Linked DNA regions of Homo sapiens: regions 2, 3, 4, 5, 6 and 7 are each linked to region 1. Evidence: promoter capture Hi-C in 16 types of primary human blood cells and fetal thymus (Javierre and others, 2016). All regions are on one chromosome and are shown on one strand. The core of a region is centred on a gene start or on the middle of the fragment in contact, and the rest is flanking DNA. Distances in the headings are between cores, read along the strand shown.

Region 1 (4,331 bases), core at 1,364-3,863:
GATAATAATTTTTAATAAACACACTGCTTAATCTGAAAAACAAGATCAGAGGATGAATTGTTCTTTACAGACTATGAATAGATCTGTTACATTTAAATAAGTCGTTATTCCCCTGAGTTATAATTCTACAGTCAGGCATATACCATAAACATGTTATATTTGGCATAAAGTACTTTAGAAATTAAAAACCATTTTTAATAGGTTGACCACTACAGAACCAGTAGACTGGCTACTTTGTAGATTTCCACTTAATTCCGTGTGAATTCAGCATATGGAATTTCCAGTGATGTCAAAGAGTTGTTGGCAGTATTAACTGAGTTGACATAAAGCTTTTAGTTCAGTGCCTAGATCATAGTATTTAATAAATGTTAGATGTTATTATTGACAGCTTAGACTGTGAGCTCCTCAAGGGCAGGAATTTTTATTTTTTCATCCCTCTGTGCCCACTCTGTGGTCTAGCACACAGTGGGTATGTCATTAATCCCTTTATGTCTTGACAAACAAGACGTCGAACCCTAGCCTCTAGGAAGCTAGGACATTCCATACAAACTAAAATGCATTTTATTGGTCTAGATTCTAGTCTAAAAGATTCAGTGAATAGTCTTATCTGGATAGCATGGAACTTTATGCAGCATGCATGCAATGTGAATTCTACCAGGCTGAAATTACCTTAGCAGCCTCCCTTTCTTTTATTCTGTAGCATCAGCGAATGGCTTTGTTATTTTTTTTTTTTAACTTGCGAAAGATACAATTTCAAAGCGATAGTCTTATGCCACCCTTGAAATTAAGATTTAAGTTCTTCTGTAAATTAATGTTTAACAATATTTGTAAAGGGGCATTACGCGAAAGAATTTAATAATAACCTTTTCAGGATATTATCTACAACTGTGCTGGTCTCAAGACCAAAGGGACAGTAAGCCTCTCCCCTCCCCGCAAGGGGAAGTACTTTGTAGGAATCCACAGGGGTGACTTTTAATATATTCTCATAAAGAATTGGCCTGGTGTACACCAGCCAGCCAGTAGCTGGAAATGCTGGTTTGGGAGTCTGGCCACTTCTGTGGTGGTGGGTCTGAAAAAATTTACTTCTGTTAACAACAACAACAACAACAACAACAAGACATAGAGGTCTTACAGCTTTCCAAGTCACGTTTTGGAAACACATACTCTGCTTCCTTCTCTATGCGTATTGATAAAAGTGAAAGAAATACTAGTGTCTTTTGTTTTATGTATGTATATTTCAAAACATTTAATTCAGGCTCTTAGTTTATTCCTTCGAATTTCTAAATTCAACCAAACTTCAAAAACCGCAAAAAGAAAAAAAAAAATCTCACCTTTTCAAAGAATTGGACAAAGCTTTTTGCACGTGACTGATCACTGGGAGAGCAGGTAATTTGTGTTAAACAACGGACTGACATGCTAGCCCCCAGGCGTTTTCCTAAGAGGAGTCGTGGCAAGAACACAGTTCCTGATGCAGCCACCTTCCCCCAAAGTGGACTCGATTGCACATTCCTGCAGTGGCTCTGACAAGGGGGCAGAAGCTCGTCCCACATTCACACTCTCCTGATTCCGAGAAACAGGGGAGAAAACCCCTCGCTGGCTGGCGGGGTTTCTGTTTCCTTGCAAACAGGGGTTTGTCCTTCTGCTGAACTTTCACCTCCCGAACTCGCCTTCTTTCATTGGACAAAGTGCAGAAAGAAAGAGGAGAGACCGAGGGAGGACGGGAGAGAGGGAGAAAGGGGGTTGAAAACACCACCTCCCACCCCGCTCTCCTTCAACTGTCACTGATGGCAAAACACTTTCACTTTTAACTGGAGGAAACTCACATTCTAGCCTGTCCTCTCCCCTCCCTTTCATATTTTTAGCTCAGAATCCAAGCAAATAGCCATCGCATTCCCATCTTCGTCCCTAGTTAACACTCTCCCTTCTCGTTTTTTCCGCTGTCTGAATGGGCCCCCCATTTCCCATCTCCTGAGGAATCTCCCCCTCCGCCCCCCTGCCCCTTATTTTCCAGGTCTTTCCTGCCAGATCCCTCTGTTGCCAGGGACTGCTCTGGCGTTCCCTTCCTCTCTCTGGTCCGCGGGGCTCTGCCTCCCTCTCCTCTTTCCAATCCTGCCTGGACGCCCCTCACTTCCCCCTCCCTGGATCCCTCCCCCCAACCCCCCCCCCCATTCTTTGGCAATTGCGATTTTTTTTTTCTGGGAGCCCGGTTGTTTACCCAGCAGGTGGATGTGACGTCAGGGACGCACAACAGCAAAAAATAACAACATCTCCCTCCGCGACGTGTTGGCCTCTCTCGCGCGCCTTATTTATTTATTTGTTCCGGGATGTCGGGGGGGAGGGGGGAGGGAGGAGGGGGGTGGGCGCCAGCGCCCCGGCGAACGGCAAAGAGGGAGCCGCTCCCGCTCGGGGGGCCGCTGGAGTGCCCAGCGGGGTGCGTGAAGCGGAGAGGGGACCCCTGCGGGAGGTAGAGGGTCGGGCCGGGGTGCGCCCCCGGGCCGGTGCTGCCCGCGCCTCTGCCGCCGCCGCCGCCGCCACCGGCGCTGGCTGGGCTCCGGGAAGCTAGTCCGGAGCGGAGGAATCTATTGTTATTTATTGTGTGGCGGTTGCACGCTGTACTCGCGGCGGCCCGGCCCTCGCCCGGGAGTGCGTGTGTGCGCGCGTGTGTGCGCGAGTGAGTGTGTGCGCGGGGTGCGCGCGCGGGCGGGAGTGGGCGCGCGCGGGGAAAGGCCCGAAAACACCTTAGTTTGCACCGAGAGACCATTTGCAGCGGGTGAGTTTGTATTTTTCCATTTCTGCTCCACTTTTTCCCAAGCCGCCTCCTGTCTTGTTTCCGCCACTTTAAACAACAACAACAACCAGCACAAAAAAAAAAAAAGAAAGAAAGAAAAAGAGAAAAAAAATGGAAAAAAAAAAACAACTACTTTCCACCTCCAGGCTCCACGTGCATCTCCCCCAGCCCTCCCCTCTCTTCCTCTCCCCCCCGGGTCGAGGCCCAGCTCTGGGATGGGTGGGGGCTGCGGGCCGGCGCGCGGGTGGAGGGAGCTCCGGCGGCGCCCGCACCCTTTGGGTTTATTTGCATAAGTCAAATGGGGGCGGGGGCGGTGGCGACTGTGAGGAGGCGAGATCGCCTGCCCGTAGGCCCCTTCACGCCTCTCTCTGCGCTCTCCACGATCGCCTAGGGGAGAGAAATCAATAAGCCCAGGCCGCCTGGCGCAACTTTCGATGTCCGGCGTTGGCGTCCGGTGGCCGCCCGGGCGCGGGGCCGGTGCGGGGTCCCGGGTCCTGGCCGCGGCGGGAGGGGGCGCGCGCCGGGCGCCTCCTAGGCCCAAAGTTTAGACTTGGAGCAAACTTTTCCCCTTCTTTCCCCGCGGGTGTGTGCCCCCTCGGTGCCCTTGAGCTGCCCCGCGGGCCCCAGCAAACTGACTGTGGTGCCTGGCCCTGGGCCCCGCACTGGGGAACTTCCCCGCTGCCACGCGCGCGTTACCCCGAGAGTCAGCGGCGAGGAAGCTCTCCCGCCACCCCCTCGGAGCCCGGAAAATTCAAACACGCACCTGCGCACCCCCAGCCAGACACGCACCCCTACGCGCGCTCGGCCTCCGCTTTCCCGAGACGAGTCCGCAACAGCCGTGGCCAGATCCACGGGTGGGTGCGGGAGCCGGATGCGCTGCGAGGAGTCGCCGCGCCCGGATCTCTCTCCCACCATCACACACATTTTCTGATTTTACCCCCCTCTGAAGCTTGGGGGACGGGGAGATTTCCCAAGCTCCGATTTGTCCTGCGTCGCGCGCGTGTCGCCTCGTCCCTCCGGCCCTGTCCTGGCGGCCGATGGCTCTCCGTCCCTCGCTTGCGCGCAGCCTTCCTCCCGAGCTCCCTGCGCTCTATTCCTGTCCCGCCGAGACGACTCCCTGGAGCCAGCGAGCCGAGGCGGCGTGCGCTTCGAGTGGGGACCACGGCGGTGGCGGCGGCGCCGGGAGCCGAGGAGTTTGCCAGTTGCCGCGGGGTCGCGGTCATTTGCTGCCTCCGCCTTCCCTCGCCCCCGCCTCCCGCCTCCCTCCTTTTCAGACAACGTCGCGCTCGGAAACTTAGATTCCTTCTTCTTTTTGGCCCTCGACGAGCCCCCCTCCCCACCTGTTGTGAGCTCCGCCTTGGTCCCGGGAGACTGGCAGTGACACACACGGGCTCTGGGGAGCTCCGCTCCCGGAAACAAAGTCGCATGCCCCCCTCCCATGTGTTTGCTTCGAAATCGCTGCCTGCAGCCCCCCATTCCCGCGCAGCTCCCGCCCCCTGTGAGAATAAGGACTAAATAAACAGTTGTAACTCCAAACCTTGCG
Region 2 (4,331 bases), core at 866-3,365, 490 kb after region 1:
TCATGTTGGTCAGGCTGGTCTCGAACTCCTGACCTCAGGTGATCCACCCACCTTGGCCTCCCAAAGTGCTGGGGTTACAGACGTGAGCCACCGTGCCTGGGCTAAAGCTCACTTTTGAGCTTCTATAAAGTAGAAATGTCTACCCAGCAGATTAATTCAGAGGATTAATTTAAGAATACACACACACACACACACACACACACACACACACAGAATCTGGCACCTGTAGCTCAAAATGTTACCTGCCCTTCTTATAGCTGTTGTTCTGATCATTATATTATGATGATGTTGGTTTGGGTTATTACTTGTGAGATCCTACAGTGGTCTGGACACACAAAAAATTGAATTTTATATAATACTGAGGCTTTCTGATGGTAGTAGATGGGCAGAGAGTGGCAGTTGTCAACCCCCTATGCATTTCAGAGCGAAGTGCATTTAGAATGGCCATACCTATGTTATCATATACCTATGTTATCGTCTCTGAATCTTTGATATATGCCAGATGGGTTGCAAATTCTACAGTGAATTGTTCACTTCTGTAGGTCTTCTGTGCAGGACCCTAGCTCTCCTGTAATGGCAGTGCAACTGCTGAGAAGAAAAGACAGAGTGCAATGATCATGCTTCCCCACTCTGACCCCCTCCTAGTTCTTCCCTGCACTCTTAAGGAGGCAGTTGCACAGTTATTTTTTATTTGACATTATAGTTACATATATGCAAAGAAGATCAGGGAGTATGCTCATTTTATTGTGTCTTGATGTGTTGGGAAGGGAAGCATGGATTATAAAATTATCTTTTCATCAAGCCTTCTAGTTAGAGTTGACTTGCTTCTCCTGGGGACTGAGTAATTTGTTACTCTTCATTGCCCTGTTACTTTTTCCCCCCAAGGGTGGTTCTCCTCACACCTGCAGGAGACTTGTTCTTTCACTTCTGTATTATCACATTACATACTGCACTTATGAAAAACGGGGCAAATGTTTTCTAACAGCCATCGTGACAACTCTGTTACAAACAGGGAGGTACTGTTTAGTTGAAAAACATGGGAATATCCAAGAAAAATGTGAAAGAAGCTTAGAAAATGAAATTTCTTGAAAATAGGAATCGAGAGATTTGTTTTATGATGGGAGCAAGGTTGAAGAAAGTAAGGAATTGATTCCCCATTAGAGATTGCAAACTGATGGCCCGCAGGCTAGATACTGTTTTGTTTATGCACACAACATTTAACCTTTTTTTGGTTCGAACTTTTTGAAGGCTTTCTTTTTCTTTGCAAAGATTTAAAAAATCTGGAGATTTCCCATGAAAATCTCATTTTCTGTCATCTCCTAAAAAAGAAAAAAATCAGAAGTTCAAGCAATATACATAGCACCAGTTATCTGGAGCAGAGAAATGCTGCCCATTCCCACTTTGCCATGGACTTCAACTCATTTCAGTAGCCTGCCTGTCTGCTGTCTATCCCTCTTCTAAGTGGCTCAAGGTTTCATGAACAGATTCACCTCAGAGTCTCAAAGGCAACAGCACGCTATAGTGGCCCAGCTAGAGCCCAGGCATTTTGGAATTCTTGATTTCTTTGTATCTTTGTACCCTGATTATAGACTGATGTCTTTTTAAACTGGCTGCCTTGTGAAAATTAGAGTTCCTCTTTCTTAACTAGGACTGTGGGTAGTAGTGATCCCCATGTGGCAAGGATGGGGCAGGGAAGAGTGTTCCTGCAGGAAGAAAGTGTGTGCAAGCCAGATGACATGCAACTGCCCTCATGATCAGATTTGGATAACTCTGTTATTTACTCCAAACCTTAGTGTCTTACAGTTTAAACATTTATTCTTTTACACACTTTCTGTGAGTCAGAGATAGGGGAGTGGCTTAGCTGGGTGGTTCAGGCTCATAGCATCTCATGAGATTGCAGTCAAAATGTGAGGCTGGGGCATGATTGGGGCTAGGGGAGCCGCTTCCAAGATGGCTCGCTCACATGGCTGTCAGCAGGAGGCCTCAAGTTCTCAGGCTGTGGACCTCTCCATAGTGTGACTTCAGTGCCCTTGTGATGTGGCAGCTGGCTTTTCCCAGAGTGATCCAAGTTGTGACCTAGCCTTGGAAATCACATACCATTACTTCTGCCATATTTATTGGTCACAGAGACCGGCCCTGACATGGTGTTGGAAGGTACTATCCAAGGCATGAATACCAAATGGTGAGAATCTTTGGGGCTTGTTTCGGAGGTTGGGTGCCACTGATTCCAACCTCCTCATTAGCCCTATTTAGAATCAGAGTAAGAGCAAGTCAGTGTAATTGTTTATAAAGTGTCATATCCTTCAGCTATGTTGGATGGAAGAAAGGTCAAAATGTGACCTGAGCACTGGTGTACTCTTGGCGTAAGGTCATTGGCCAAAGTATTATTCACTTCACTAAAAGATTTGCCTGTACTAATAAGAAAGAGAGATTGACAAAAGAGATGAACTGCACTAAGGTATTTGGTGAGTTCGATTTCTTTCTCAAATTATGCAAATTTCCTCCAGCGTTTCCCCCTAAACAATGGGAAGTTGCATATTCTCAAAGCTGTAAGACCTTCAAAGATAATCTCAGAGTGATTTTAAGGCAAAATAAGTAGTTTAATATTTATATCTAACTGCATCTCTGGTGTCTCAGAAGTCTTTGACATCATTGGAATGACTTTGTTAGTACCTTTCCCATAAATAGTTAGCTAGACAGGTGAAAGTTCAAGAAAAATAATGAGATCCTTTACGCAACTCAAATAGACTGTTCATGAGATTCCCTGTTCAACAAACATCTGACAAATTATTGGGTGGTTGTGTTGACCTAGACACCTAGAGTGAGGCACCTAGAGTGAGCAGCAGAGAAAGCAGCCGGGAGATTACATTCTTATGGGACATTAAACTGGTAAGCCAAAAAAAAAAAAACAAAAAACAAAACAATGTATCACCACATGTTGTGTGACGATGAAATCTGTAAGAAAACAAAGTAGATTAAGATAAACACCGTGGTGATGACAGTCCCATGTTTGACTGGCTGGCCAGGGAAGGACTCTGAGGAAATGGTCTTTGAGTAGAGACCTTGACTGAGTGAGGGACTGAGTCTTGCGTCTATCTAGGGAAGAAAGTTTCAGGTTCGGGGAAGAGCAAGTTTAAGAGCCCCCAATCAGAAACAAGCTTGGTTGCTCTTTCGCAATTTCCAGAGACTCCATCTATTCCCCAGCATCTTGGTTCTCACCACTGCACTGCTTATGGTTGACCGTCAGCTTTGCTTTTTTGACCATAGTCTTACAGCCCTGGCTTAGCCTTCTCTGAAAACATACATTTGCACACTAAGCCAGATTCACATGGGAGGTACATTATGCCGTGGCCTAGTCTAGTGTGTATTTCCCCTTTCTCTCCCCACAAAGATTTTACAAAACTTATACATGCAAACAGGTATTTTTGTTTGTTTCACATGAGTCGCTTTTGCATAATATAACAAGCCCATGATTTCACATGTACAGTAATTCATAGAAAGTGATAGTCATCTTGCTTAGACACCTTAGTTCTCAAATCTAGCCTGCTAAATATAGTACCTTCTCAGACCCATATAAGGTGTCATAAAAAAAGAAAAAATAAAGGTCAAAGTTTCCCCACCCACAAATTTGGTTATAAAAACAGCAAAGCAGGGTTTTTCTGAACTTGAATCAGTAAATTTTTAATTTAAATAGTATCCTGTTTTGACAAAGTGCTAAACCACAGAGGTCTGAGAAAGACACTCTTAAGCCTTTGTCAATACCAGCTGGCATCTCTCAACAGGAAACCTTGGATGACTTTTGTTGTCATTTTGTGATGCACTGACAAGGAATGCGTGCCCTTATTTGTTGCATCAAGGAAATGGTCAGAGTACCTCTGATGCGGCTCGATGCCGTTTACATCAATATGTTGCATAATCCTTTGCCAGACAAAACCGGTATTTTGTTGTCGTTGTTTGATCAATTAACATTGGATTTCTGGCTTTGCTAAGTGCACCTCCAGAGCAAGACACAAAATGATGTCACATGAGTTCTGTTCTCTGACCCACCCAACAAAGAACTGAGCTAACCTGCAACCCTTTTCCTGCCTTGGTCTTTTGATCTCATCAGTTGTGCAGCTCACCTCTTCAGGGCCTGCACAGCTCTTGAATGGTGTGGACTGTCCCGAGGAAATCCAAGGTACTATAAGAGCTCTTTGTTGGAATTCAGTCCCTAGCCCTCTCTTTATCTCACTTTGTTTCATGTTGAATAGTAAGTTGCATTTTACTGTTATGGTGACTGCATTTTTCTTATGGGGCCTTCAGGGTAAACAGCCGTTAGTTTCCATCTGTGA
Region 3 (4,331 bases), core at 653-3,152, 420 kb after region 1:
GCTATGTAAATTTGTTTAAGGGCTATGTAAATTGGTTTAAGGAAGAAAATAACAGTTGTAACTCTGGTCATCTTAACTACTCTCTTTTTTCTTTATAACTTTGGAGGCAAATAATTTCAAGTATAATGCGCTGGAATGTAGGAAGAGGGGGGACATTGGATTTGAAGTTCAAAGAAAGTTTGCTGTTGGTTGTATGATAAAACATTTCTTAGTTTCCGAATGAAGGGAGAAAGTAAGCTTTATTCATTGAAAAAATGGTCAATAGATTTATTATAAGAAAACATAAAACAGGTCTCTAAAAAATGTGTACACGTGAAGAGATTAGCTACAAGATTTTGGTGAAAATAATCTTTCCCCTTTTGTGAATAGACTTTCTATAAAAATGTATTAGTCTCTGGGAATTAATATTGGGAAGTTTCTGTTCAAATTCCATTCACTGTTTCTAGCAATGTGTTTTCTCCTTTGGAGCCAACTGTGCTTTCATTACTTTAAATAGAGCAGTCGGGACCGGGCGCTGTGCCTCACGCCTATAATCCCAGCACTTTGCGAGGCCGAGGCGGGCAGATCACGAGGTCAGGAGATCGAGACCATCCTGGCTAACATGGTGAAAACCTGTCTCCACTAAAAATACAAAAAATTCTCCGGGCGTGGTGGCGGGCGCCTGTAGTCCCAGCTACTCCGGAGGCTGAGGCAGGAGAATGGCATGAACCCGGGAGGCGGAGCTTGCAGTGAGCCGAGATTGCGCCACTGCACTCCAGCCTGGGCGACTGAGCAAGACTCTGTTTCAAAAAAAAATAAAAAATAAAAATAAATAAATAAGTACAGCAGTCTAAGTTGTAGGTAGCATCCATGTTTATTTCTAGCCCTAACATGGAAGAGAAACCATCTGATTATATAGGCTACTCATTACTTTGGAACCAACTCTGTTTCTTTATTTGGGGATTGGACTGATGGCATGGGATTGAGCTTTCGTCTGTGCAGAATTTTACAGACAGACTCATGTTCTGCCAGGCAGACATTCAGCCCTTGATCTTCTCACAGTCGCCATTGTGAAGGAGAGCAAGCCCTTTCTCCACACTCTCTGTGGACTACTTTCTAACTTTTCTATTGTCATGGGAGAAAAATTTAAAAAACTGATTAAAAGGGGGCAAGTGCATGGCTTCTATGAAAACTCTACCGCTCTAAACTGTGGGACTGCTTGAAACTGTTTGTTTTGGCTGGCCTCGGTGGCAAGACTGACATATTTATGTAGCAAGCTCACATGTAATATTTAACTTGGAATTTTACACATAGGAATGATGAACTAAACAGAATATAAGGTTTTGTTGTTGTTGTTGTTTCCCTGCTTGTTCTGAAATGTGAGAAAATATCGAGTTGACAAGTTTCAACATGGTCACCTCTTGCTTGGCCAGCACGATTCATAATTAGCCAAATTCCTTGATAATGCTGCAGAGATTGGGCACTGAGCAGCCGCCACGTTTGCTATGCAAGAGAGTTAATAAAATTTTTCAGTGCTGGAGGAAAGCTTATATACAGTAGTCTGTTTGTCCTGTGTTTCCACCACCTGAGTCACAGCCAAAAAAGCAATTGTCTACTACATATTTCAAACAGATGCTGAGGGGTAGAAAGGGTGACCAGAATTCACAGCAATAAAATCCCGCTCTCTAAGTTCCCTTGAAGGAAGTGAACTCATAAAATTTTTGCTGCTGACTTATTTGTCCACTCCTTTGAAGTATTTAACATTAATTTCACCTATAAATCATTGGCACCTCAATTTTTCATTGAAGTATCAGGACTGTTAAAGACATACCCTGGATGTGCCTGGAAAAAAAGATTTGGGAAGCAGATCCACTAATTTAACTGTTATTCACGTGCATCGTTTTGGTTGAAACCAATCCTAGTTACCGTCAAAGTTCTCTAACTCAAAGTCCGTTTTCTTTCTAGTTTGTATTTGTTTGTGCATATAATTACAGAAAACACATTTTAGATGGAACACCAGCTTGCTTTTTTCAGTTTCTTTCTGTTGCATTGATACATCTTCTAATGGGGAAAGACATATGATGGTACTTGGAAAAATGATGACAGCCGTAACTGGAATAATAAATGCTACCGGGAAGATTTTATCAAATGTAAAAAATAAAAATGAAGAGATCAGCCTTCAACTCAAGTACCCAGTAGCTAGACTATCAGTAGACAAGGTCTCCTACCTCATTAATCTGTGGGCTTTGATTAATTAACATATGTGGATAAAGGGGTACTATGTTCCAAAGGAAGCTTTTTGGGTTCTTTTTCCACATGTTGGCAAGTAACAATGGGTGGGGCTTCACCAGACACCTGCCCCTGTCTAAGTTTCTGTGCCTCCTGTCTCTATCAGTTTGACTTTTGCCACTGAATGTAAGTTCCAATAAGGTGGGGACCTTGTTTATGACGTTCTCTGCTATATCCTTGGTGCTTGACAAATAGTAGGAACCCAATAGATATTGGATTGGAATGGGCAGTTATTCAAAAAGTCTTAACCATCTTAACATTGGATGTCTTAATGGTACTGGCTCCCCCTTCAGTCAGAATAAAACTTCTAAAAGGATCATATGGACAATGCTTATATCAGTAGAGATGTATGAACAAAGGCTGTGGGAAGCAGTGGTTAATCAGAATTCTGGGCTAGTATTTAGTTGCATTTGTCCTAGTATTTTGGCCAGGTTTCAGTTAGCTAAGCATCTCTTATACCCTGTAATTTAGTATATGGTTTCAGCTCTCCAAATAATGGCTTGCTAATGGTAAATGCTGTTTAACTTTCTAATTCAGAGGAGCTACCTGTTCAGCAGAATTTTAAAAAATTGTAAGTGATGATTGAAACCAGGTTAAAAAGCACTTAAGGTACATCTGGCTGTATGCTTGGTGTCTACTTCGATTGGCCTGTGGCTATCATTATTCTTTTTGACTCTGCACATAAACTGCGGGTAGGGATTTTTCCTCAATTGGTCCAGAACTGAAACTTATCTATACTAAGGGAGCTTTTCCCTTTTGGGTGAATAATGCATCCTTCTTTTAGTTGCTGTGATGTGGAATGTTGGCTCAGTTTCTCTCCAGTGCCTTCAGTTATAGGTGCTCATCACTGTTGATTTTTATCTATGTAGTGGTTCTTGTGACTTCCCCATTCCCTCTAAGGACATCTGAATGTGTTGTTAAGTGATGCTAAAATTATAACCACTTAACAGATCTCTGTATCCACTGTTTTTGTTCATCCCACTCATCAAAATTTGGTTATTCTCTGTAAAGCACAACTCTGATGGCATCATTGTCTTGCTCCCTGTTTCTTAGGAAATTGAGCTTAAATTCTCTTGCTTGACATGCAGGGAATCAGGTGGATTAAAAGTGGCCACACATTCTTTTCCATTCCTTTCTTCAAGAGGTAGAGTCTAAGTGCCTTCTCACATTTACTCTGGGCAGCTGCGCTTTTCACTTGCTTTGGGCAGTAGAATGCAGTGGAAGTGACACTGTGCCAGTTCCAAGCCTGGTGGCTTTCTCTTTGTTCTGTAGGAACATGCTTGCCACTGCTGTGTCAGGAAGCTTGGGCCAAATGGCTGAATGATGAGAGGTCACGTGGAGAGAGAGGAGGGAGGATGAGAAAGAGAAAGAGACAGACAGGAAGAACTGAAGTACCCACATCTTGGAGGCCCAGATGAGCTACCAGCTGAATGCAGCTGCATAAATTACCCCAACCAAAGAATCGCCTAGCTGAGCCCAGCCAATCCCCAGAATTTTGAGAAAAAACAAATTGTTATTTTAAGCCTTCTGCGTTTTAGGATAGTTTGTTACAAAGGAATAGGGAACTGAAGCGGGAACCTTGGAAAGCAAGCCTCAATTTATCCTCCCATTCTTATTCTACATTTTCTTAGACCTTCTAAAATGTCAGGCACGTGTGACTCAGAAACCCACAAAAATGATTAGTGCTTCTCTTTGCTTATGCTATATCTTACTCCTAGAATATGTTTATACTCTATGCTTTGTACCTGGGAAATTCCTTAAGTTCAGTCACTCCCGTCTTTGGTCTTTCCTAAGGCCCCCATGACTCAGTGACTTCTGACCTCTCTCAGGCTTCTGTAGTTCAATCTACATTGGTATGAGGTTGGGGGAAAGATGATCATTAACTATTTGAGCAAGTAACATTCTCTGTGGAGGCCTTCGTTTCTACATTTGTATTAATTATCTGGCTGATTTTTCAAGTCTCAGCCTTCAGTATTCTAGAACAGATGCCCAATAAAATGCTGTGCATTGGTCATGGAATTGTTGATTTATCTGTGCAGTCCCATGAGGTAACCACTAGCCAA
Region 4 (4,331 bases), core at 783-3,282, 390 kb after region 1:
TTCCTGGCCTTGTTTCATACCTTATGGGAAATGACGCAGGTTATATGGTATGGATCTATAGGTGTAAAGACTGGGTAGCAATGGCTGGATTGGCCGTACCATTCTACCACTTTTTTCTTTGAAAAAGGTGGCTTATGAACTTTGTTAGAAATGCCCTCAATTGGCCTTTCCCGTTGTAGCTGCTGGAGACTGACTGTGTCTGAAAGGAGGGTCTCTTGATGCTGACAGGGAAAAGCTGATCAGCACCTCTGTGTCCTAGAAGGGGAACTTCCAGAAAGGGGGCATAGAAGAAGGTATTATTAGTATTTATTGAATGCTTTCATGGGGCCAGGTACTGTGCTGGGGGCTAGCACCTTCCCTTGCTAGTAGGTAAAAACCCAGCTGTAATTTTAAAGGAATTGCTATGCTGAGATACACTTTTATTGAAGACCTTGCATAGTTCAAATAACGTGAAAAGTATTGATGGTCAAAAATATTTTGTGTAGGAATCAATGCCACCAAAATGTTAGTGATAACCGTACAAACAAATTGAAACAAAACTGAGACAGGATTCAGATAATTCTGACAAATAAAGAAAAAGCAGCCACAACACTGACCCCCCAACATGTTCTTAATTCCCTTTGGGGCTGTTTCTAGAAAAGGCATATTTCACCCTGAATGCTAAATTTAGTTCTCTACTCTGTTAGTTTAGACCTGCCTTCCATCAAAATATTGTTGTCAAAGATTTATGTAACTTGTGATTTGAGCCTTGTATGAAATTCTTTCAAGTTTTGATTACTAAACAGTTATGTGTCATTAATCTCTCCATTGAAAATTAAAATGGCACAAGAAGCAAAAGAAGAAAAAAGACCTGTAACAGAGGAGAATGTGGTAATAGAAAGCCAGGTGCCACATTTCATTATGAGTGAAGTGTACCCTCTTGACTTCAAGAGAAAGCTTTGCCACTTTGAAAAGATAATTTTAAGCCCTGACCGGTGAGCTAATAAAAATAATCATAAAAAAAGAACGCCCTATCTCTTGTCTACTCACAAGTCTGTTTTTGAACTTTCAGGAGGTATGACTTTAATGGTAATTTGTTGACAGATTAGTTTCAGTGATTGCCAAGAGTTTGTTTTTGCAGAACTGGCAGGTCCTATCTGCTCTCTGAAGGCAAGGAACCTACTTTGCTGTTTTGCAATGGCTTGCGTTTATCAACAACTAGTGCTGAGCAGGCAGAATTGGAATGTTTATATAATGTAAACCTATAGCTCGCCTGATGGAGTCTAGTGTACTTTTAGGTAGTGCATAGATTACTTGATAAAAAGGGTTACAAGGTGACTGCTTTTATGACAAAGAAGAATAGCAATATAAATGCCAGTGGTACACTGAGCCACAAGAAGGAAGTTTATGTAGGGAATTGAACCCCATGTTAGAAAGTTTCTTTTCATCACTTTGTCTTTGAACTCAAATCTATTGTAATTATGAAGTGTTACTTGTAACATTCCAGAGACCCTTTGCTAAATACTGTGTTTGATTTGATTCATAAAAATAGAGCCACATTATCTCCCCTCCCCTGCCGACAAGAAAATGTCATGAAGAGTTTCCCATACTGACCTTGTCTCAGCTTTGTTGCAAGTGGGCTCATAAGTGAGCTCCACTAGAAAACAGCTGCAATTTATTTCTTTGATCATTTGCATATTTTCATTTAACTTTTTCTTTTTTTTTTTTTTTTTTTTTTTGGAGATGGGGTCTAGCTCGGTCACCCAGGTTAGAGTACAGAGAGTACAGGGTTGCGATCATGGCTTACATGGCTTACTGAAGGCTTTACCTCCCCGGGCTCAAGCGATTCTCCCACCATCAGGCTTCTGAGTTGCTGGGACGGCAGGCCAGCTGTTTTTTTTTTGTTGTTGTTTTTCTTTTTGTTTTCCTGTAGAGATATGGGTCTCACTATATTGCCTAGGCTGGTCTTGAACTCCTGGGCTCAAGCGATCCTCCTGCCTCAGCCTCCCAAAGTGCCAGGATTACAGACATGTGCCACCACACCCAGCCTCATTTAACTATTATTTATTGAGCCTCCGTATGTGGAAGAAAATGGGGGTGGAGGGGGAACTGATATGTTAGGTGCTAGGAAAACATGGGAGAATAACTTAGAGTTTACTTAGCTAGATCCCGAAGAATAACTATGGAGGCAGTAGGAAGATGGGAAGATGGTGAAAAGGCAGATTGGGTTCGGCTTATGGGAGGGTTCTAAGTAGAGAAGAAAGATCATATAAGAGGTGGTGTATTAAAAGTAAATGAGAAGGTTGAACCTAGCTGGCTTGGAAGGGAAGAAATCCCGGAGAGATGAGTGGCCATGACAGCGCTACTGCAGTTGGTCTGACATTTAGTAATCGGCCACTAACGTGGCCCCAGTGAATTGAGGGCACCCTGTTGTTGATCCCTCCTGGCTTCTTGAACATCTCCTCCTCCATCTGAATCCCTTAGTGAAGTCTAGGTTCCATCAGGGAATGGGGGCCGGGATCACCTTCCTCATTACCTGGTACTTCCACAGCACACAGCACAGTACCTGATGTAGGGCAGTTCTGTGACAGACTATTTATGAATGAGTGACACAGAAAGAGAAAGGAAGGACTGGATAAGAAGAGATTGTTGAGGGGAGTGTTGGGAAAAACAGGACCTTTTGAATTATGAGGTATGCAAATACCAAGGAGTGGGAGTTACCAATGATGAGTCAGGATGTTCCATCTTAATGACTGGCAAAATGGGGGCACCAATGAAACAGAAAGAGAGAGGCATGGGGAAGAACCTGAACTCCTTTCTTAGCTGCCACTAGGAGGTTAAGAACTTATAATAAAGGATGGGCTTATTTTGAAAAAGTCATTTTTTAAAAAGACTTCTACAGAAAGACATTCTGTGTAGCTAAAACTCACTATTTTGATTGCATATGTTTATTTGTGTTAAAATTATCAAGTATTTTCCATTTAGCCTTTGACAGTTACTAATGAATACATCTTCCAAAAGTCACATGGGAAGTACTGATAAAATGCTTGTGTTCCCATTGATCATGGAATGGGCTTATCTCTTTGAGAGAACAAAACTATGAAGTTAGATCTTTGATAAAGTCTTTGTTCCATATTGACACAAGCTTCTTATAATGACTTTGTTTTTAAGGTGGTGGGGGAGCGTATGTTGTGTTTCTTTTGTTGGAAAAGTACAATGTGCAATTATTAAACAGCTGGTGCTATTGGAAGACTCATTTAGGAGGTATAGATTAAACTGCCTGGGGACATAAAGGCCCAGTCTTCTTTGTGTATTTAAATTTAGCCATGCCCAGAGAGGGAAGGCAGGAAGCAAGCTCTGTTTTTCTCTTTAGTCCTTCCATGTGGACATTTTGCAGGATCTTCTGCATAAACTGATAGTGCAGATACCAACTGTGGAGGATATTGGATTTTTTTTTAAGGTTGGTAACCCTGTGTTCCCCTTGAATTAACTATTTTATCCCTATTGTTAGACAGCTCCTTTTTGACTGTACCAAAAATAAAATGAACTTCCTAACACATATTAATCTTCAGCAAAGTTTCTTCAGGTAGACCATTAATTTCAGAATTTATTATCCACACAAACACAACTGAGTTGTCAGTATCACAGCCACCTATTAAAAGAGACAAAGCAGCTGGTGGCTCACGCCTGTAATCCCCTTTGGAGGGCGAGGTGGGCGGATCACCTGAGGTCAGGAGTTCGAGACCAGCCTAGCCAACATGGCGAAACCCCATCTCTACTGAAAGTACAAAAATTAGCCGGGCGTGTTGGCATCCACCTGTGATCCCAGCTACTACTCAGGAGGCTGAGGCAGGAGAATCACTTGAACCTGGGAGGCAGAGGTTGCAGTGAGCCGAGATTGTGCCACTGCACTCCAGCCTGGGCTACAAGAGCGAGAGTCCATCTCAAAAAAAAAAAAGGAAAAAAAAAATAAAGAAAAAAAGAGGCAAAGCATCCACTGATCCTACATTCGTGTTTTTATCACATTACCTTGTCTCATCTTCAACTTCGGTCTCTCCACATTGAAGGGAAGGTGACATGATGTCTTCTTAGTCATTCAAATCCAATAACTTTTAATCTGAAGGTTAAGTAGTGAGATATAAACTAAGAGATGATAATATCAATTTTATGTTCACTGAAGGGCACAATATACCTCTTCCTAGTAGAGGGAAAATTGTGCGTAAAATGTCTTTTGCTTTTCAACAGCAGAGTCATGCCTCTCAGAGCCAAAGGAAGGAATATTTTTGGAAAAAATTAACAAAATAAGAGGTAGCATCCTAAAGCAGGGCAAAAGTGACTTTTTATTATTATAA
Region 5 (4,331 bases), core at 1,138-3,637, 370 kb after region 1:
TGAAAACTTAAAAATTGGCTGAGCTAGAAATCAAGCCCAAGTATGTCTGCCTGTTTTCCACCAGACCTGCCTTCTTAAACTTTAATATGCATGTGAATCACCTTGGGGATATTTTAAAATGCAGGTTCTCATTTAGTAGGTCTGAGATGGGCTCAGGAATTTGCATATCTAACAAGCTCCCAGGTGATGCCTTTGCGGCTGTCCACAGAACCATGCTTTGTGTAGTCATAGCCTGCAACACAGTTGCAGTGCACAGGTTGATCACTTTCTCATCTGTTGGAGGTATATGTGGTTCTATTGGAAACCCTTGTCATGAGACAGATCCCTTGTACTAGTCTCCTCTGGAAGGTGCCACAGGGGTCTACTCTTGGATAAATGCACTGGCTCTTCTCATCAATTGGTTGTGCCTAGGTTATGATCCTCTCTCCCCCGCTCCTCTCTCTCTTTTGGGGGAGAACGTGATCAACAATGGCTGTGATCTTTGATGAATCTTAACTCAGGTATTTAGCATGCTCGTTATTAGGAGCCCTGTTGTCTCCGTTTACAGGTGAAGAAGACTAGTAATTTTAATTCCCTATTTTAGAGTGTTGTTCCTGTCCCAAAGATGTCCAGTACCTCCACCCCTCACAGCTACCATGGGCATGCCAGGGAGTAGCAACACCCTTTCAAAAGTTTCTTTGGGTGTTTAGTTGATGAATGAATCCTGTTGAGAATCTGGCATTATCAGACATCAGATGGTCCCGCCGTTGACCCTGTAGTCATCCAGTGGCCCCAGCACTCAGCAGGCAAAGAGAAGTGGCCCCACTGTTGGTACCTGTTCTACCTATTCAGGGCACCTCAAGCCCTGTCTTTCTCGTTGGCATGTTCGTGACAGCATGATTAAGGTAGCTTGATAAAGGACTTCTGTTTCTTTCTAAATCTCCTCCCAGGCTCAGCACTTCCCCATGGGGGAGATCCAAGGTCTAGGTGCTTATTTAGACCACATGATAGCACATGGATGGATGGGCGGAGCATATCTCTGTGCAAAGGGGCCCCTCAGCCAGAGCTGGACTTGCCTCTCACCAAGCAGGCAGATGCTTTTGTCCCAGCTCCACCTAAGTACGCTTTATCACCAGCTTCTGGCTGTTTCTCAGATTCCAAGTTCAATCCTTGCTAACTGTAGGGACAATATCTGCATTCTTGACTTTTAGGCCGACTGATTCTTTGTACTTCCCAGCCATTCACTCTAGATCCATTCATCATCGTAGTACCTGATTGGAACCCACTGCACCCTTCATTCATCATGTAACACAATGTTACCATTTTTATGTGTTTGTAAGATTTGAATATATACATATGTATGTTGCATTTTATTTTTATTTTATTTTTTTTGAAATGGAGTCTTGCTCTGTCGCCCAGGCTGGAGTGCAGTGGCACGATCTTGGCTGACTGCAACCTCCACTTCCCGGGTTCAAGCGATTCACCTGCCTCCGCCTCCCGAGTAGCTGGGACTACAGGCACCCACCAGCACACCCGGCTAATTTTTGTATTTTTAGTAAAGACAGGATTTCACCATATTGGCCAGGCTGGTCTCGAACTTCTGACCTTGTGATCCGCCTGCCTCGGCCTCTCAAAAGTGCTGGGATTACAGGCGTGAGCCACCATGCCCGGCCATGTGTATGCTGCATTTGAATTGTGTGGTGGTAAAAATTGAAGGGGTGCCTTAAAAAAGATTTACTTTAGCTCTGTATTTTGAAAAAACTCTTTCAGATACAGTTCTTTATAGTGTTCAGCTGTGTTAAATGGTCTTGAAGGGTAGCTTAATGAGAAAAGGTCTTATGTGTTAAGGACATCATTATATTGTTAAAATTCTGCTGAATGTAAATAGGCAGATGCCTGTAGTTTGTCCTGAATCCTTTACTGAAGGGCTTGCCTTAGTTGTCTTCACATGGACAAACAAGGCACAGGAATTACAGATGATGAATGAGGAATATACCACTGATGGAATTTTCTTAAAACACACCGTGTGTTTCCACATCTTTCTTTTTACATTAGAGTTTCTCCCTTCATTTAATTTTCATTTGTTTGGGAGTGTTATTTTGGATTTAATCTATGTAAACTATATGCCCATGCCTTTGGATTAATGGACTTCACAAAGGTAGTGATTAAAGTTTACAGATGTGGGAAGCTACAAATACGAAAGGAGGCTTACATTTTTCTCTTTTTATTCATTCATATATATATATATATATATATATTCCCATTTTGTAATTCCTTAGCATCATGTCATTGTTCCCATAAAAATATACTGTATTTTCTGAAATGATACAATCTATGAAGCATTTCCCATTACGTAGACACCATGTCTTTAAATTATAGCAATTTCTTAAGATTTTAAGGCAAAATGAGCTCTTAGAAGTGTGATTAATAGCAGGGAATGAGGCTAATGCTGGGTCATCAGTGGCACTCCATTACAAAAAGGTTGGATTAATAAAAGCATTCATCTTTTTGACCAATAAAGCATTTGAATGATATGCTTATAGTTCTTATAGTAGTTACTTGCTACTAAATAAACTCTGAACTTGTATTGTGGAAAGGCGGCATGACTTAAGTGGCTGATGCACAAGTTTTTTGATGGTGTGAGAAAAGGCAGGCCTGGATGGGAGGCTCATTGTTGGAGCTACTGGTTTTTAGGGTGTCTTCTACAAGCGTAATACCCATGAACTAGGAGCCTCATTTGGTTTGGGGGCAAGTGTAAAGAATCTGGCTTCTTGGTTGATTATGTCTTTAGCAGTGTAAGTGTCCATGTAGCCCCTCAGTACGTGCTTTGTGAATTGCACTGTTAGGAATCCAGTGCTTAAGGGTCAAGATTATAGCGTGGAGGTTCATGAGGGTCTCTTAAGTCTCCTGTAGCTCAGTTGCCCAATATATGAGCCTTGTACCACTCACGGATAGGTTGGGAGAGGATTTTTTGGTGGCTCGTAAATCATTCACCAATTCGCATTACTGTGGTTCAATGTTGAAGCAATTCCATTTTCAATTCTTTTTTAATCCTTCTGATAAAGCCAAGGAGAAAGTCTCAATTTGGTACTAGTATCTTTAATCTGTCTCTCCCAGTTGTAAGCTCATTATTTAACAAAGAAAGAACATGGTTCCACTCAGAGCCTCTGAGAAACAGCAGGTTCTAGCAGAATTTAATATCATTGGTTAGGTTTTATAACATGCATTATAAAAGTCTTTCTCACCTACAAAGGGTTACATACTGGTTTTCCATTTGAAGAAGTGATACAAAGTTTCCTCTGAAGGTAGATTTATTTATCAAAAGTGAATCATTTTTTAAAATAACAATATGGTAGATGTGGATGGAGATGGTGAAAATAATGAAGACAGAAGTAAAAGTGAATGCATGGGGCTTGGGAAACTAGCTCCGGTGTCCACTAAGATGCCACAACCTTTCTGAGATTCTCAGAATTTGTAAGATTTTCATTCTGGGGAGGAGTTGTGAAAAGAAAAATCAGTCCTTCCCAATCTTGAGTTAGCCCAAGGCCTCTTTAGAACTATTTTCTATTTTAAAAATAATTTGTTGAACAGCTTATATAAAAGCCTTCTTAATGTACTTTTTTAAAAATAAAACTTTTACAATTTGGGATTCATGGGGAATAAAATAAGTAAACTGGGTACATAGAAGTAAAACTAAATGTGGGCCCGGCATGGTGGCTTATACCTGTAATTCCAGCACTTTAGGAGGCCAAGGGGGGAAGATCACTTGAGGTCAGGAGTTGGAGACCAGCTTGGCCAACATGATGAAACCCTGTCTGTACTAAAAATACAAAAATTAGCCGGTTTTGGTGGTACACCCCTGTAATCCCAGCTACTCGGGAAGCTGAGACAGGAGAATCACTGGAACCAAGAGGAAGAGGTTGCAGTGAGCCAAGATTGCGCCACTGCACTCTGGCCAGGGCAAAAGAGCAAGACTCCCATCTCAAAAATAAAAATGGAAAAATAGAACTAAATGTGGGTTAGGGCAAGTGTAACACCACTGCTGGGGAAGAGGAAAGAAGACACATTATTTATCCTGCTCGTGATAAGGAATAGGTGAAACCATCTTCAAACAGAAAAGAGTACCCCATTCAAGCAATGATTATATGCCCAGGTTTAGCCTAGTTTTCAAAACTCCAGGACTCAATTATGATTTCCCTTTATGAAGGGAAATTGTTACAACTCTTTGGATTACCATTTAGAATTGTCAACTATGTTTATAATCCTTTACTAATATTCTGGTTCATCCAGGGTTCAGGAAAAGAAAATAAAAACTGAAGCTCAGGAGAACTGGACAAGAGCTGAAGTGCAGA
Region 6 (4,331 bases), core at 517-3,016, 310 kb after region 1:
AGTCGAAGATGAAACATGACAAACCAGAAAAATTTATTGGCCAAGGTGTCCACTCCACTTGGTAACTTTTTGAGGGCCTGATCTGGGGTTATCTGTCCTGTAAGAAGATTAAGATCAACCCAGTTAAAACACGGTGGGCCCCATCCCTGCTAAGACCAGGTTACAGGATAAAACTCTCATCCCTCTTGGTTGTTAAGACGAAATTTTCATTCACTTAAAGCATAAATCCTTTGCATAATATTTTTATGCTTGTTCTTCTCCTGTGTGTAAACCTTTATTTGGCGCCTTCTCTCTTCTGTGGGATTGACTTTTTAGGGCAAATGAGAATTTTGAAGATAATTACTCTCCTCCTCCATTCCTGTATCTTTAACAACTGCCAGGTCCCAGTGACACTTTGATAAAATGTTTTTAGAGCCAGTCACTTGTGTTGCTGTGGTCTGCCTTGTCGTAGAGGCACATCATTTTTGCACATCAGTATTAACAGTTCAAACACCCTGAAATGCTAATAGCACTAGTAAGCTTTTAATTCCATGGAATTTATTGCTTGCTGTGTTTCCATGAATTTATAACGCTTTGATTCTTAAGAGCCCCATTTAATCAGTTTTGCCTGGCACCGAACATAATAAACAACTTGCTGGTGAAAAAGTGCCACTCGGGGAGGCTGCTAACAAGGAAGTTAAATGCTTCTGCCACGAGCAGTTTCTTCGCTGTATTTTTCATGAGCTGTAATGTACTTTGCTGGCTTCAGAGCGGTGGTTAAACACAGTGACAAACCGAACCCACTCCAGCACTCGGAAACTCAGACTTTGCTAGGTGCTTTGGCAAAAAGTATAGAAGAAATCAACACTTTCAGCCTTTTCCCCCCTGCCTCTAACTTATTGGTTTCTAATACTTTTTCATTATCTTTACCTTAATCTCTTAGCATATGATTTATGGACTGGAATGGTGAGTGATATCAGTGGGCAAAAACAATCATTAGAGGCTGTTAAGGAACATTTATTGTTTATTTGGCTACCTGTCTATAAAAGTACACATGAAGGCCCTAATAGCAAAATATCAAATTATCAAGTGCTTTAAAGCAGAAAATGTCATTTGTTTCTCAAAACTGCACCAACTTTATATAATTGCCCTTTTAATTATCCCTAGTGGCCCGTGAAATTTGCAAAATAGAGCATCAAAGCTTTGATTTACTTACATGTTGCACTTTGGCGGGATTCTTAATGAATATTGTTTAGTACTAATGCTGAGATGGAATTCGTAAATGTTTATAGTGAGGGACTTACTTAGAAGAGTGGGGAGGCCAGTAATGAAACTGAATCAACTGGGTTCTTCAAGATGGAACAATATGGCCATATTCTTGGGCCTAACATTTTGAAAAATTCTTTTTATAGTGGAATTTTATTTTTAATTCAGGTCTAGATGAATACACATTAAGTTTAGTTTTGCAGAATCTTTTTTTTTCTGCCTAGCTATCTTATTACTTTCCAAGGGCTTTTGAGGAGTAATTTGTTTCCTGGCAATTTCGGATTAAAATCACCTGTTTCTTCATAAATTGTCATCTTCAAGGTAACACTGAGAACTGGATCTCTGAAATCTCATGTTTTCGAGATGATTTTTATAGCTGCAGACCTGTGGGCTGATTCCAGACTGAGAGTTGAAGTTTTGTGTGCATCATCATGTGCCATTAAATGAAAAAAAAAAAAAACAAAAAAAACCCCACTCTGAGTAGCTGTGAGTCCAGGAAGGGCCTGCATGGGTAGTGGTGCCACTGCAGAGTGAAGTTTCTATCTGTCTACGTTCATTTACCTTCCCAGATTTTTGTCTTCCTTCTGCACAGATGAACCACGAGGCTACATGTTGGGTAATAAAAGAAGTAATGATACAGGCTGGTGATAGGGAGACCCTGGAATTTGATTCCAGGCTGGCTCAGTGGGCACAGGAAGCTCTCTCTTAATATCTCAGTGATAGAGATATTAAATCATCCTGGTGGACAGGTGGACACCTGTGGAACATCACTTGTTAGACATCCCCAGGTTGACAGCACACCAGCGATAACCGCCCTTTGGGTGTGGTATGCCTGCTTGCATCTTCCCAGCCCACTGATGAGAATGTCACAAGGGACAGAATCAGGGGACTAACAGAAGTCTGTAAGATTACATCTCTCATTTCCCCTTTATCTACCTGTCTTATCACTTGGTCAGAGGGGCTGGCATGATGTGTCTCCAAGCAAACCATGTTGGTTGTTTTTCTCAAAGTGATGGTAAAAAGATTATTTCCCCTCAGTATCGCCCCTGGTGTGGAAGAGAAGAAGATCGGTTTTAATTACTTGGCTCATCAGTTTTTGAAGCTTCTTCATTATATCCCACTACCCCCCCAACTTTCCCAGTCTTCTGGGGCTTTTCCTGCCCCTTGGAATCTCGGAAATACATTTGTCAGTTCTCAAGCATTTTGGAATACTTTATCCTTGTGATGTGACTGTATCTGATTTTTAGAATTATTTTCCGCCTCCTTCATCTAGCTGATGGCAATTTAGAAGCTGAAATAAATTAGCCGGGCGAGGTGGCGGGCGCCTATAGTCCCAGCTACTCGGGAGTCTGAGGCAGGAGAATGGCGTGAACCCGGGAGGCGGAGTTTGCAGTGAGCCGAGATCGTGCCACTGCACTCCAGCCTGGGCGACAGAGCGAGACTCTGTCTCAAAAAAAAAAAAAAAAAAGAAAAGAAAAGAAAAAAAAGAAGCTGAAATAATTTTAAAATCATTAAAGCACAGACTTTTTTTTTTTTTTTTTGAGACGGAGTCTCGCTTTGTCGCCCAGGCTAGGGTACAGTGCTGTGATCTCAGCTCACTGCAACCTCCATCTCCCAAGTTCAAGCGATTCTTCTGCCTTAGCCTCCCGAATAGCTGGGATTACAGGCACCCACTACCATGACTGGCTAATTTTCGTGTTTATAGTAGAGACAGGGTTTCACCATATTGGCCAGGCTGGCCTCGAACTCCTGACCTCAGGTGATCTGCCTGCCTCGGCCTCCAGAAGTGCTGGAATTACAGGCATGAGCCACTGCGCCTGGCCCAACACAGACATTTTTAAGTAATCTGTTAACCCTGTCTACCAGAAGTGATAATATTTGCCTGGTTCAACCTCTTTTATCTTATATAATTTTACATAATTACATCTGCCACCCTTACCTGTTGTGTCTTTTGCAAACTGTGTCTCTATTCTTGCATTTTTAGCTCCATGACCTTGTCCTTCCTTATACAATCGCTTTTGTTTTTGGTCCTCAACATCAGCAAAGTGATTTCCACCTGTTTGCCATTTCTACTCGCAGATGCAGTTCTATGCTCAGTCACCTTGCAGCCCTCAAGGACATGACTCTTGTCTTTCCATGACCTCTCTTGGATGCTTCAAGAACATCTAGCCATCGAGTCCTTTCTTTTAGATTTCTTTCCATCTGGATCTACTGTATACTTATTTAAATTTTTCTAATATTGAACCTCTTTGTAAGAAAAAAGGACCACTCAAAAGTGGAGAGACACCTGGGCCACTTCCATTGCTTCAGAGCTCCTAATACTAATCTTTAATGCAAAGGCAAAACAGATTTACAAAATTTATGGTATATTCTCAATGTTTAACTCAAATAAGTTAATGTTTACACACACACACACACACACACACACACACACTCTCTCCCATAAAATGCAGCGTGATAATAATGTGACTCACAGGATTTATTCAAAACATTACTTCTGATGTATTGAGGTGATGTGGCCCAATAATGGATCTGCAGGTTCAAGTTCTTTGATGAAGGATTAAATTCACTCCTGTCACTGTGTATCTGTGATGGGAGGTTAAATCTGATTTGGAGAGAGCATTGAAAGTCCAAAACTGCAGCCATAAAAAGAATGAAATCATGTTTCTTACTGCAACATGGATGGAGCTGGCGGCCATTATCGTAAGTGAAATAACTCAGAAACAGAAAATCAAGTACCACATGTTCTCACTTACAAGTGGGAGCTAAACATTGGGTACACACGAACATAAAGATGGAAGTAATAGACACTGGAGACCCCAAAAAGGGGGAAGGTGAGGGTTAAAAAATTACTTAGTGGATACAGTGGTCCCTATTTGGGCAGTGGGTTCACTAGAAGCCCAAACTTCAGCATTATGCAATAAATCTATGCAACAAACCTGTACATATACCCTGAATTTAAAATAAAATAACAAAAATATAAAAATAAAAATAAGCAAAAGTTGGGGGCCAGGCGCAGTGGCTCATGCCTGTAATCTCAGCACTTTGGGAAGCTGAGGTGGGCAGATCACTTGAGGTCAGGAGTT
Region 7 (4,331 bases), core at 1,260-3,759, 300 kb after region 1:
AGCAGAGATGTAGCCTATTCTAAAGAGAGCAAGTCAGCCAGTATGGCCGAAGCAGTGTCCTTAAGGGAAGAGTACAGGTTGAGTATCTGTTATCTGACATGCTTGGGACCAGAAATATTTCTGATTTGGGATCTTTCAGATTTTATAATATATGCATTACCAGCTAAGCATCCTTAACCCCAAAATCCCAAATCTGAAATGCTCCTGTGAGCATTTCCTTTGAGTGTTGTATCTGTGCTCAAAAAGTTTTGGATTTCGGAGCACTTTTGATTGCAGAATATTGGATTAAGGCTACTCAAGTTGTAGTAAGAGACAACATAACAGTGTAACAGGGCCAGACTGAGTAGGGCATTAGGGCTTTTTATATTCTTATTGGGGAGCCATTGAGGGGCTTTGAGGTAGAGCAAGATCTCACTCATGCTTTTTAAATGGATCGCTCTGGGAGCTGTTTTGAAAATAGACTTTGGGTGGATGAGGTCATAGGCAGGGAGACCTGTCAGGAGGCCACTAGAATAATCCCAGTGAGATATGATGATGGCCAGGATCACAATGGCAGGGGAGGTGCTGAGAAGTTGTTGAATTTGGAATTTATTTAAACATTGAGCCAAAGGATTTCCTAGTGAAATTGATGGGGAGTTTGAAAAAGTTGCATCACAGAAGACTCTTAAGATTTTTGTCTTGAATGACGGGATATAATCAATAGGATTCACTGATGGATTGCTTATGGGCAGAAACAGAGGAGTCAGAAGACAAATGCTTTCTGTTCTAAGGAACTGATAGAAGGTGGTGCTCCCATCACTAAAATACAGCAAGACAGTGGGTGGGGCAGTTTTGGAGGTAGGGGAGGTAAGCAAGGGAGACCAGGAATGTAGTTGTAGATATGGGAGGTTTGAGCTATGCACCCAGACTAAGATGCCAAGTGGGCATTTGGATATGTAGTCCTGGAAATGTCCTAGCTTGGTCTATAAATTCAGGATTTATAAGCATGTAAGTGATACCTAAAGGCATAAACTTGACTGAACTCACCAAGGAAGCAGTGGTATAGAAGAAGAAAAGAAGAGTTCCAGGATCTGGGTTCTGACTCTGGGAGGCTGAGGTGGGAGGATCTCTTGAGACCAGGAGTTTGAGATCAACCTGGGCAACATAGTGAGACTCTTATCTCTACATTAAAAAAAACAAAAATTAGCTGGGCATGGTGGCGTGTGCCTGTAGTCCCAGCTACACTTGGGAGGCTGAGGCAGGAGGATTGTTCAAGCCCAGGAGCTTGGGGCCACAGTGAGCCACAGTTGCATCACAATACTCTAGCCTGAGGGACAGAGTGAGACTCTGTCTCAAAAAAGTAAAATAAAAATAAAAAGCCAACACCATTAAAAGTTTTAGTCATAGAATATTGAGAACAGGAAAGATCAGAGATGGGATGAAAACTCTGAGATTGTGAACCAGAAAGTCATCAAGGTAAGTGTTTAAAGTAGGAAACAAAGCTGAGCATGGGGGCTCACACCTGTAGTTCCAGCTACTCAGGAGGCTGAGGCAGGAGGATTGCTTCAGTCCAGGAGTTTGAGGCTATAGTGTGCTATGATCCTGCCTGTGAATAACCACTTCACTCCAGCCTGGGTGACAGACTATAGTGACTCTGTCTCTAGATAAAAAACAAAATTAGGCTGGGCACAGTGGCTCATGACTGTAATACCAGCACTTTGGGAGGCCAAGGCAGGCGGATCATGAGGTCAGGAGTTCAAGATCAGCCTGGCCAACATGGGGAAACCCTGTCTCTACTAAACATACAAAAACTAGCTCGGCATGGTGGCTCATTCCTGTAATCTCAGCTACTCAGGAGGCTGAGGCAGGAGAATTGCTTGAACTGGGACCCGGGAGACGGAGGTTGCAGTGAACCAAGATCGCACCACTGCACTCCAGCGTGGGCTACAGAGAGAGACTCCATCTCAAAAAATAAATAAATAAATAAATAAATAAATAAGAAGAGAGTTGTGAGCCATATCAAATTCTGCCAAGTGGTCAAAAAAGATGATGACAAAGAACTGACCATTGGATTTGTCAATATGGAAGTCATTGATGACCTTAGTAAGAGTTAGTTGTGTTTGAATCTCACTCCTATCATATTTACTGGCTTTATATAACTAGCAGTCTGCTGGCTGGCTGAACTTACATGGTTTGTATTATTTTTCCAGGAATAGTAATTGTTCAGCATTCTTGTTTGTTACAGTTACCACATTTTCCCCCACCCCTTGCACTCATTTTTGTGAAGTTTGGGTCATAGTACAACCTGTGAGCAGTGAAAAAGGAATCCTGGGCATTTTGTCCCTCTTGACCCGTTCTCTAATCTGATGGTTTGGAGATTTGCAGTTTAAATAAAAGGCATAGAGGAAAGTGGGATGTGTTTATAGCCCTAACTTAGAATATGTCGATTGTAATCATCTGAAGTATATCACAGATTGGTGTGGTTAACATAGTCTCTAGATTAGTAAAATACTAGTTTGAGCCTGAGCCACGTCTGTCTATCACCTTTACCTTTTACTAATATAGGTAGTCTTTGATGGGTTCATCTGCCTTTCAGATTACCTAAGAGCATCACAGATTCTAGCTTTCTCAAAACTTGTGAAACACAGTTGAACATTTTCAAGATTTCTTGGCCAGTCGCAAATCCTCAAGCATCCAGGAAATGGTAGGTTAATTACAAAAACACACATTATCTCTATATGGATGCTAAATACTGTTAAGATGGTGTTGGATGAAGGAAGGACAGTTTCTCTTTGTGGATAATTTTAAATGCACTTACGAAACAAAAAATAAAGGAAGCGGCCTTGCGTGGTGGCTCACACCTGTAATCCCAGCACTTTGGGAGGCCGAGACGGGCAGATCATCTGAGCTCAGGAGTTCGAGACCAGCCTGACCAACATGGAGAAACCCCGTCTCTACTAAAAATACAAAATTAGCCGGGCGTGGTGGCGCATGCCTGTAATCCCAGCTACTCAGGAGGCTGAGGCAGGAGAATCGCTTGAACCCGGGAGGCAGAGGTTGCGGTGAGCCAAGATCGTGCCATTGCACTCCAGCCTGGGCAACAGGAGCAAAACTCTGTCTCAAAATATATATATATGAAGAAGAAGTAGTGAGAAAAATTTCATTGGTAACCTTATTTAAACAGTTCAACATTGTAACTAAATCCTAATGTTATTGTTTTTATTTTATTTTTATTTTTTGGGATGAAGTCTCGTTCTGTCACCCAGGCTGGAATGCAGTGGCACGACCTCAGCTCACTGCAACCTCCACCTCCCAGGTTCAAGTGATTCTCCTGCCTCAACCTCCTGAGTAGCTGGGATTACAGATTCCCGCCACCAAGCCCAGCTAATTTTCGTATTTTTAGTAGAGACAGGGTTTCGCCATGTTTGTCAGGCTGGTCTCAAACTGCTGATCTCAAGTGATCTGCCCCTCTCAGCCTCCCAAAGAGCTGGGATTACAGGCGTGAGCCACAGCGCTTGGCCCTATTACTATTATTATTATTATTTTGAGACAGGGTCTCGCTCTTTCGCCCAGGCTGGAGTGCAGTGGTGCAGTCTCGGCTGACTGCATTCTCTTGCCTCCCAGGCTCAGGTGATCCTCTCCCCTCAGCCTCAATGAGTAGCTGGTACCACAGGCACATGCCACCACGCCTGGCTGATCTTTGTATGTTTTTAGAGACAGGGTTTCGCCATTTTCCCCAGGCTGGTCTTAAACTCCTGGGATGAGGGGATCCACCCACCTCGGCCTCCCAAAGTTCCGAAGTTCACACCTGTAATCCCACCTTGCCTGGCTATTTCTTATATATGGCATATTTAAAAACATTTGTCTATATATACTTTTACTGTATGTACTCTTTTTGTTTCCTGCTTTTATCATTAAACGATCTTAAGTGTTTTCCCAAGTTATTACTTAATATATCTACATCTTATTTTTAAAGCTACGTTCATTACTACCACTGTTGTGTTTTCTATACCTGCAACTGGTGGGTCTTTAGATTCCTTCCAGTTATTTGTGATTGTAACTACGTCTGTGTTGGACATCTCGAGATAACTCAGTCTCTTGAGTGAGTTTCATAAAAGATGTTGTGATTTTAGATAATCACCTAGTTTCTCCCTCTACTTTTAAATAATATTCAAATGAATTCCAGGCACATAAAATCATTGCTTGGCTCTGCGTACATGTGTTTTCTGTGATAGCATGAGGTAGAGTTTGTATCAACTTTGATGACAACATTTCTAGACATTAAGTTGGTAGGCAGTTTTTTGTTTTGTTTTGTTTTGTTTCTGATTTGAATTCTCCCTCGATATTTTCCC

The links. Contacts are between HindIII fragments. The CHiCAGO score rates a contact against its expected background, and 5 or more counts as called.
Region 2: a fragment that was not itself captured here is called in contact with the fragment with the promoter of FOXP1 in region 1 in 12 of 17 cell types (naive B cells, total B cells, M1 macrophages and 9 more); the score reaches 19.7 in naive B cells.
Region 3: a contact is called between a fragment that was not itself captured here and the fragment with the promoter of FOXP1 in region 1, in 8 of 17 cell types (naive B cells, total B cells, M0 macrophages and 5 more). The highest score is 8.7, in naive B cells.
Region 4: a fragment that was not itself captured here is called in contact with the fragment with the promoter of FOXP1 in region 1 in 1 of 17 cell types (activated CD4 T cells); the score reaches 5.2 in activated CD4 T cells.
Region 5: a contact is called between a fragment that was not itself captured here and the fragment with the promoter of FOXP1 in region 1, in 1 of 17 cell types (total B cells). The highest score is 6.0, in total B cells.
Region 6: a fragment that was not itself captured here is called in contact with the fragment with the promoter of FOXP1 in region 1 in 2 of 17 cell types (naive B cells and total B cells); the score reaches 6.1 in naive B cells.
Region 7: a fragment that was not itself captured here is called in contact with the fragment with the promoter of FOXP1 in region 1 in 2 of 17 cell types (total B cells and naive B cells); the score reaches 5.3 in total B cells.

Annotation. Positions count from the first base shown.
Region 1 is chr3:71,582,010-71,586,340 of GRCh38, reverse strand. It overlaps FOXP1 (forkhead box P1), which reads left to right and starts at 2,613. Exons shown (of 21, transcript NM_001349338.3): 1 at 2,613-2,770. It overlaps FOXP1-DT (FOXP1 divergent transcript), which reads right to left and starts at 1,398. Exons shown (of 1, transcript NR_182289.1): 1 at 1-1,398. RefSeq lists an enhancer at 2,129-2,423 and a silencer at 2,501-2,740. The HindIII fragment of the contact is 2,384 bases long and covers 1,356-3,739 here.
Region 2 is chr3:71,086,979-71,091,309 of GRCh38, reverse strand. The region is part of intron 7 of FOXP1 (forkhead box P1); the gene reads left to right. LOC124906247 (a long non-coding RNA gene) reads right to left here. Exons shown (of 2, transcript XR_007095956.1): 2 at 2,595-4,331. Among named protein-coding and RNA genes, the nearest start is that of FOXP1-AS1, 200 kb to the left of the region's middle. RefSeq lists an enhancer at 3,367-3,466. The HindIII fragment of the contact is 2,091 bases long and covers 1,070-3,160 here.
Region 3 is chr3:71,160,673-71,165,003 of GRCh38, reverse strand. The region is part of intron 6 of FOXP1 (forkhead box P1); the gene reads left to right. Among named protein-coding and RNA genes, the nearest start is that of FOXP1-AS1, 130 kb to the left of the region's middle. The HindIII fragment of the contact is 749 bases long and covers 1,528-2,276 here.
Region 4 is chr3:71,188,026-71,192,356 of GRCh38, reverse strand. All of the region lies in intron 6 of FOXP1 (forkhead box P1), which reads left to right. Among named protein-coding and RNA genes, the nearest start is that of FOXP1-AS1, 100 kb to the left of the region's middle. The HindIII fragment of the contact is 2,188 bases long and covers 939-3,126 here.
Region 5 is chr3:71,210,856-71,215,186 of GRCh38, reverse strand. The region is part of intron 5 of FOXP1 (forkhead box P1); the gene reads left to right. Among named protein-coding and RNA genes, the nearest start is that of FOXP1-AS1, 77 kb to the left of the region's middle. The HindIII fragment of the contact is 6,766 bases long and covers 1-4,331 here.
Region 6 is chr3:71,266,473-71,270,803 of GRCh38, reverse strand. The region is part of intron 5 of FOXP1 (forkhead box P1); the gene reads left to right. Among named protein-coding and RNA genes, the nearest start is that of FOXP1-AS1, 21 kb to the left of the region's middle. The HindIII fragment of the contact is 1,167 bases long and covers 1,183-2,349 here.
Region 7 is chr3:71,286,667-71,290,997 of GRCh38, reverse strand. All of the region lies in intron 5 of FOXP1 (forkhead box P1), which reads left to right. FOXP1-AS1 (FOXP1 antisense RNA 1) reads right to left here and starts at 1,240. Exons shown (of 5, transcript NR_126463.1): 1 at 1,027-1,240. The HindIII fragment of the contact is 9,286 bases long and covers 1-4,331 here.